2 separate regions of the Homo sapiens genome follow, and region 1 is linked to region 2. The links are contacts of gene promoters, found by promoter capture Hi-C in human tissues and cell types (Jung and others, 2019). All regions are on one chromosome and are shown on one strand. The core of a region is centred on a gene start or on the middle of the fragment in contact, and the rest is flanking DNA. Distances in the headings are between cores, read along the strand shown.

The links. Contacts are between HindIII fragments. The study calls those that stand out against the background at their distance.
Region 1: a contact is called between the fragment with the promoter of CYP2D6 here and the fragment with the promoter of NFAM1 in region 2, in 10 of the 25 tissues and cell types used here (H1 embryonic stem cells, IMR-90 fibroblasts, adrenal gland and 7 more).

Annotation. Positions count from the first base shown.
Region 1 is chr22:42,129,560-42,132,882 of GRCh38, reverse strand. CYP2D6 (cytochrome P450 family 2 subfamily D member 6 (gene/pseudogene)) reads left to right here and starts at 2,073. Exons shown (of 9, transcript NM_000106.6): 1 at 2,073-2,271; 2 at 2,974-3,145. The coding sequence starts at 2,092. RefSeq lists a cis regulatory region at 777-788 and promoters at 482-2,014, 1,601-2,067. The HindIII fragment of the contact is 22,528 bases long and covers 1-3,323 here.
Region 2 is chr22:42,430,761-42,434,181 of GRCh38, reverse strand. NFAM1 (NFAT activating protein with ITAM motif 1) reads left to right here and starts at 1,779. Exons shown (of 6, transcript NM_145912.8): 1 at 1,779-1,945. The coding sequence starts at 1,825. The HindIII fragment of the contact is 19,415 bases long and covers 139-3,421 here.

The DNA.
Region 1 (3,323 bases), core at 824-3,323, 300 kb after region 2:
CTTCCCAGATCATGGCCGACAGCACTCCACCAGACTGCGGCTGGAGCAGGCACAGGATTCACTTATTGAGGGCTGTGGCCTGGCACAGATCATAGCCTATACCCAGGGACAGTTGTGTCACTTCTGCCACCACCACATCCGCCTTCTGCAGCCACATCAAGTACCACTCATGGATGAGCCCGTCACCCCCAGCGGACTTATCAACCCCGCGTCCAGCTCCACAGCCGCCACGTGCTCGGTGAGCACTGGCTCCAAGCATGGCAGCTGCCATACAATCCACCTGTAGAGGGCCCGGTCCTCCTGTCCTCAGTGGATGATCCCGTAGAAGTCCAGAGCTCGGCAGCTGCCCTCCCACAAAAGACAGGATTTTGAAAGCAGCAAGAGAGAAGAGACGTATCAGGTAGTCACAGTGGCTCAGGCCTGTAATCCCAGCACTTTGGGAGGCCCAGGTGGGAGGATCGCTTCACCCCAGGAATTCAAGACCAGCCTGGACAACTTGGAAGAACCCGGTCTCTACAAAAAATACAAAATTAGCTGGGATTGGGTGCGGTGGCTCATGCCTATAATCCCAGCACTTTGGGAGCCTGAGGTGGGTGGATCACCTGAAGTCAGGAGTTCAAGACTAGCCTGGCCAACATGGTGAAACCCTATCTCTACTGAAAATACAAAAAGCTAGACGTGGTGGCACACACCTGTAATCCCAGCTACTTAGGAGGCTGAGGCAGGAGAATTGCTTGAAGCCTAGAGGTGAAGGTTGTAGTGAGCCGAGATTGCATCATTGCACAATGGAGGGGAGCCACCAGCCTGGGCAACAAGAGGAAATCTCCGTCTCCAAAAAAAAAAAAAAAAAAAAAAGAATTAGGCTGGGTGGTGCCTGTAGTCCCAGCTACTTGGGAGGCAGGGGGTCCACTTGATGTCGAGACTGCAGTGAGCCATGATCCTGCCACTGCACTCCGGCCTGGGCAACAGAGTGAGACCCTGTCTAAAGAAAAAAAAAATAAAGCAACATATCCTGAACAAAGGATCCTCCATAACGTTCCCACCAGATTTCTAATCAGAAACATGGAGGCCAGAAAGCAGTGGAGGAGGACGACCCTCAGGCAGCCCGGGAGGATGTTGTCACAGGCTGGGGCAAGGGCCTTCCGGCTACCAACTGGGAGCTCTGGGAACAGCCCTGTTGCAAACAAGAAGCCATAGCCCGGCCAGAGCCCAGGAATGTGGGCTGGGCTGGGAGCAGCCTCTGGACAGGAGTGGTCCCATCCAGGAAACCTCCGGCATGGCTGGGAAGTGGGGTACTTGGTGCCGGGTCTGTATGTGTGTGTGACTGGTGTGTGTGAGAGAGAATGTGTGCCCTAAGTGTCAGTGTGAGTCTGTGTATGTGTGAATATTGTCTTTGTGTGGGTGATTTTCTGCGTGTGTAATCGTGTCCCTGCAAGTGTGAACAAGTGGACAAGTGTCTGGGAGTGGACAAGAGATCTGTGCACCATCAGGTGTGTGCATAGCGTCTGTGCATGTCAAGAGTGCAAGGTGAAGTGAAGGGACCAGGCCCATGATGCCACTCATCATCAGGAGCTCTAAGGCCCCAGGTAAGTGCCAGTGACAGATAAGGGTGCTGAAGGTCACTCTGGAGTGGGCAGGTGGGGGTAGGGAAAGGGCAAGGCCATGTTCTGGAGGAGGGGTTGTGACTACATTAGGGTGTATGAGCCTAGCTGGGAGGTGGATGGCCGGGTCCACTGAAACCCTGGTTATCCCAGAAGGCTTTGCAGGCTTCAGGAGCTTGGAGTGGGGAGAGGGGGTGACTTCTCCGACCAGGCCCCTCCACCGGCCTACCCTGGGTAAGGGCCTGGAGCAGGAAGCAGGGGCAAGAACCTCTGGAGCAGCCCATACCCGCCCTGGCCTGACTCTGCCACTGGCAGCACAGTCAACACAGCAGGTTCACTCACAGCAGAGGGCAAAGGCCATCATCAGCTCCCTTTATAAGGGAAGGGTCACGCGCTCGGTGTGCTGAGAGTGTCCTGCCTGGTCCTCTGTGCCTGGTGGGGTGGGGGTGCCAGGTGTGTCCAGAGGAGCCCATTTGGTAGTGAGGCAGGTATGGGGCTAGAAGCACTGGTGCCCCTGGCCGTGATAGTGGCCATCTTCCTGCTCCTGGTGGACCTGATGCACCGGCGCCAACGCTGGGCTGCACGCTACCCACCAGGCCCCCTGCCACTGCCCGGGCTGGGCAACCTGCTGCATGTGGACTTCCAGAACACACCATACTGCTTCGACCAGGTGAGGGAGGAGGTCCTGGAGGGCGGCAGAGGTGCTGAGGCTCCCCTACCAGAAGCAAACATGGATGGTGGGTGAAACCACAGGCTGGACCAGAAGCCAGGCTGAGAAGGGGAAGCAGGTTTGGGGGACGTCCTGGAGAAGGGCATTTATACATGGCATGAAGGACTGGATTTTCCAAAGGCCAAGGAAGAGTAGGGCAAGGGCCTGGAGGTGGAGCTGGACTTGGCAGTGGGCATGCAAGCCCATTGGGCAACATATGTTATGGAGTACAAAGTCCCTTCTGCTGACACCAGAAGGAAAGGCCTTGGGAATGGAAGATGAGTTAGTCCTGAGTGCCGTTTAAATCACGAAATCGAGGATGAAGGGGGTGCAGTGACCCGGTTCAAACCTTTTGCACTGTGGGTCCTCGGGCCTCACTGCTCACCGGCATGGACCATCATCTGGGAATGGGATGCTAACTGGGGCCTCTCGGCAATTTTGGTGACTCTTGCAAGGTCATACCTGGGTGACGCATCCAAACTGAGTTCCTCCATCACAGAAGGTGTGACCCCCACCCCCGCCCCACGATCAGGAGGCTGGGTCTCCTCCTTCCACCTGCTCACTCCTGGTAGCCCCGGGGGTCGTCCAAGGTTCAAATAGGACTAGGACCTGTAGTCTGGGGTGATCCTGGCTTGACAAGAGGCCCTGACCCTCCCTCTGCAGTTGCGGCGCCGCTTCGGGGACGTGTTCAGCCTGCAGCTGGCCTGGACGCCGGTGGTCGTGCTCAATGGGCTGGCGGCCGTGCGCGAGGCGCTGGTGACCCACGGCGAGGACACCGCCGACCGCCCGCCTGTGCCCATCACCCAGATCCTGGGTTTCGGGCCGCGTTCCCAAGGCAAGCAGCGGTGGGGACAGAGACAGATTTCCGTGGGACCCGGGTGGGTGATGACCGTAGTCCGAGCTGGGCAGAGAGGGCGCGGGGTCGTGGACATGAAACAGGCCAGCGAGTGGGGACAGCGGGCCAAGAAACCACCTGCACTAGGGAGGTGTGAGCATGGGGACGAGGGCGGGGC
Region 2 (3,421 bases), core at 530-3,029:
GGAAACCAGGTGTGCAGCAGGCTAGACCCAGACTCAGAGGCGGCAGAACTCCCGGGAGTCCGAGGTACAGAGTTGGGGTGTGGGGGGCACCGTGACAGGCTGAGAGGTAGGGTCAGTGAGCTGGCACAGGGGCAGGAGCGGAGGCGGCACCAGGGCTGGAAGAGCAGGCTCCCTTGTTCCGAGGCAGTTTGGCATTCAGCTGCCTCCCAGTGCCAAGTCGTAATGAGACTTGTAGAGGCACAGACCGATGCTTTTCCAATGCTCCCCGTGTACCCTGAGGCATTGACACGAGGTCTATCACCATGGCATCAAGGTGCTTAGACAACCTGCTACTCCCAGGAGCCAGGAATAGCGTGAAGCAGCGGGTCTGCATCTCACTGTGACATATGTGAGCATGTATCACTGTGATGGATCAACAGTCAATAACACTGGGGTCCCCGCCTGCCCCCTGCGCGGTAGGAAACTTCTCCTGTTCATATGTCTTCCTCCCCTGGTGGGCGGCCCCTGCTCTTGCCAGCCTCCCAGTGCTCGTGGCATTGGTGGAAACGTCTTTAGGCTTTCACTGTTCATGTTTGGAGCAGCCCAGGGAAAAGCATGTGTGCAAAGAACTGAAATGGATCTCATGATGCCGTCACCGGGGGCTGCAGCTGGACACACCTGAGCAGGCAGTAGCAGGGTGGGAGAAGGCTCGGACATCATACCACTGGCAGTTCAAATGCCCGCCCCACAGACCTGCCCTGATCCTAGGCATGTTGTTTTGCCTCCTGGGGCCGAGGTCTTCTCTTTTGTACAACTGGGATCATCACATTTATCTGGTGAGTGAAGGGACACCTGCAGAGAAGGGAGGTAAGCGCTCAGCATGCGCTGAAACTCAGCCACCTTCCCGCCTGCGTCTTCCATGTACCAGGTGCCTCCAGCTCCACCAGCCATCACCACACCCCAGCCCCTTTCCTCTGCCACTCCAGACACGCAGGCAGATGTGTGGGTGCCAAGGGTGAGGGGCTCCCAGTCTGCTGGGGAAGGGGGTCCCGGCAGCAAACAATTCCTGTCCCCGGCTGATGCTGCTAGAAGTGAGAGCAGGGGCTGTGACCTGCAGCCAATGGGGAAGCAGTTCGAGGGTCTCACAGTTGGGAGGCCGAGTGAGCTAAGCTTTAGGGCAGCCACAGGGAGGAGCTGACGTTAGAGATGGACCAGAGAGGAGGCGTCTCCTGGGCCTCTGCAGGGGACCCACAGAGGTTCTCGCTGGGTGAATGATGGGCAGCCTGCCTTTCACCTGCCCTGGGTGTTTGGCCCTCTCTAGGGCTGGGAACATGAGGCTCCTGCCCTTCACCCCAGCCTCCCTACCACCCCTCACCAAAAAACCTACCTTTGGTAAACACATTATTAAGGGATTCTCAGAATATTTTAGAGAAGTTTGTGTGAACATGCTTGTGGTCGTTTTAAAAGTGTTTCAGAAGTGAGAGGCTAAACCAAGGCCCGAAGTCACTCATGGAAATCCCATGATCCCTCTGCACAGTTACCAGTGTCTCCTGGACGGGGCCCCTGCTGGAAAGGGGCCGAGACAGGGTGAAGCCCACCAGGGGTTGGAGTGGGGAGGCTTGGGTCCCGTCTCCAGCTCTTCTTCTGGTTGTGTGGCCTGGACCAGTCTCAGTGCCAGGTTCCTCATCTGGCGGCCACCCTGCTGGGCTGTTCCAGCTTTGCTTCTGAGCGGAAGGTCAGGGGCTGCCAGGGAGGAGCTTCGTGGGGAAAGCAAAGGGGAAGCTGTCAGCGCCGGCCGTCCCCTCCTGTGAACTAAAGAGTCGCCGCAGACAAGCAGGCCCCCAGATGGAGAACCAGCCTGTGAGGTGGCGGGCCCTGCCAGGCCTCCCACGCCCTCCTGGGCTCCCCGCAGCCCCCTGGCTCCTCCTTGGCGTGCTGCTGCTGCCCGGGACCCTGCGACTGGCAGGTAGTGTCTGTCTTCCTCCTTCTCTCTACTCTCTCGCTCCAGAACATCAGAGCGGCTTTCATCCCGCCCGGCGCAGCTAATTCCCAGGGACCTGTCTCTGGGGATTTGCTGGTTGTCGTTTGAACGCTGCAGACTTCACAGGGGAAGCCTTCTGGGACCGAGAAGATGTTTAGCTAATGCCTTGCCAAGGTGGCTTTTGAAGGGGAGGGGGACAGCGCTCTCTCCCTCGCTGCTGTGACAGCTTTGCCCCAGCAGTCTGGCCTCCTGGCCCTTAAACAAGGAGGGTGGGCGCTGTGTGGCTGGGGCCAGGGGCGGGGCAGGGGGGAGGGACAGCTCCCCATCCGAGGAACCTCACGTGGCTGCTGCGGGGGACACTGCGTTGAACCTGGCAAGTGGTGGGGCTACCCTCTGGGTTGTTGCTGGCATTGGCCAGGGAGAGCGGGGAGAGGGGGGAGGGGGGGATACCAGGGCCAGCCACAGGGCTCTGCGCCCAGAGGCACAAAACTGTCAGTCACCAGAAAGGGTCTCACCTCCCAGTTCCTGAAACACAACCAGAGGCCAAGTGTTTTAGGATGCAAGTGTGTCTTTCCACGCCAGCGGCGCTCCTTTCCTGGTTCCAGGCTTTCTTGGAAGCTGGGTGGCCGGGATCCGAGCCAAGCTGTGGGGTAGGTAGCCTCAGGGCCAGTTCATCAGGCCAGGGACGGCCCAGGAGGGTCCCATTCCAGGGCTGCCAGCACGAGGGCTCAGTGAATTCTGCCAGATTCTCTCTGCCCCTCCTTGGCCGGGCAGCAGCCAACCCTCCCTCTGGCCAAAGGGGTGGCCTCCACTGTGGAGACAGGGTGCCTTCCTTTCTATTCTCTTAGTTTATGGGGCTTTCAAGAGCTGCCCCCACCCTGTCCTGCTGCACCCCCTCTCATGACCACAAATTAGGCTTTATGGAGCCCTTAGCAGGGCACGTACTGGCCACCCTCACAGCACCCCTTGGGGCTCCTATTGTCCTCACCTGCACCATTTTAAGGACAGGGAAAAGGAGGCCCAGGGAAGCCAGTTCGTTTGCTCAAGACCTAGCCGGTAAGTAGAGGCCAGCCTCAGCCCCAGGCCAGCCTCAGCCCCAAGCTGGGCCCCTCGGCCAGTAGGCTCAGAGGATCCTCTTACTTGTAAAGAATGTTCTTCACCGGAAACTTACCCTGGGGAGGCAAAGGCTGACCTGTGTGTACCTCCCCAGGCTGCAGCCCAGAGCCCTAGGACACCATCTCCTTTAATCCTGTGCACGCCTCGCCCCACACCCCAGACAGTTGGTGCAAACACGGCCAGACCCCGGAAATGCAGCCTGTTAGTGTCAATGTGTCTCAACTACAGTCATTTTTAATTTAATTTCCCCCCAATTCCCATCCTTTCCCTTTGTGTGGTTCCTCCTCCCCAAAAGACACCCAGCACACCCTGGTAACCGAGCAGTAAGAGGTTTTATGGGGTGCT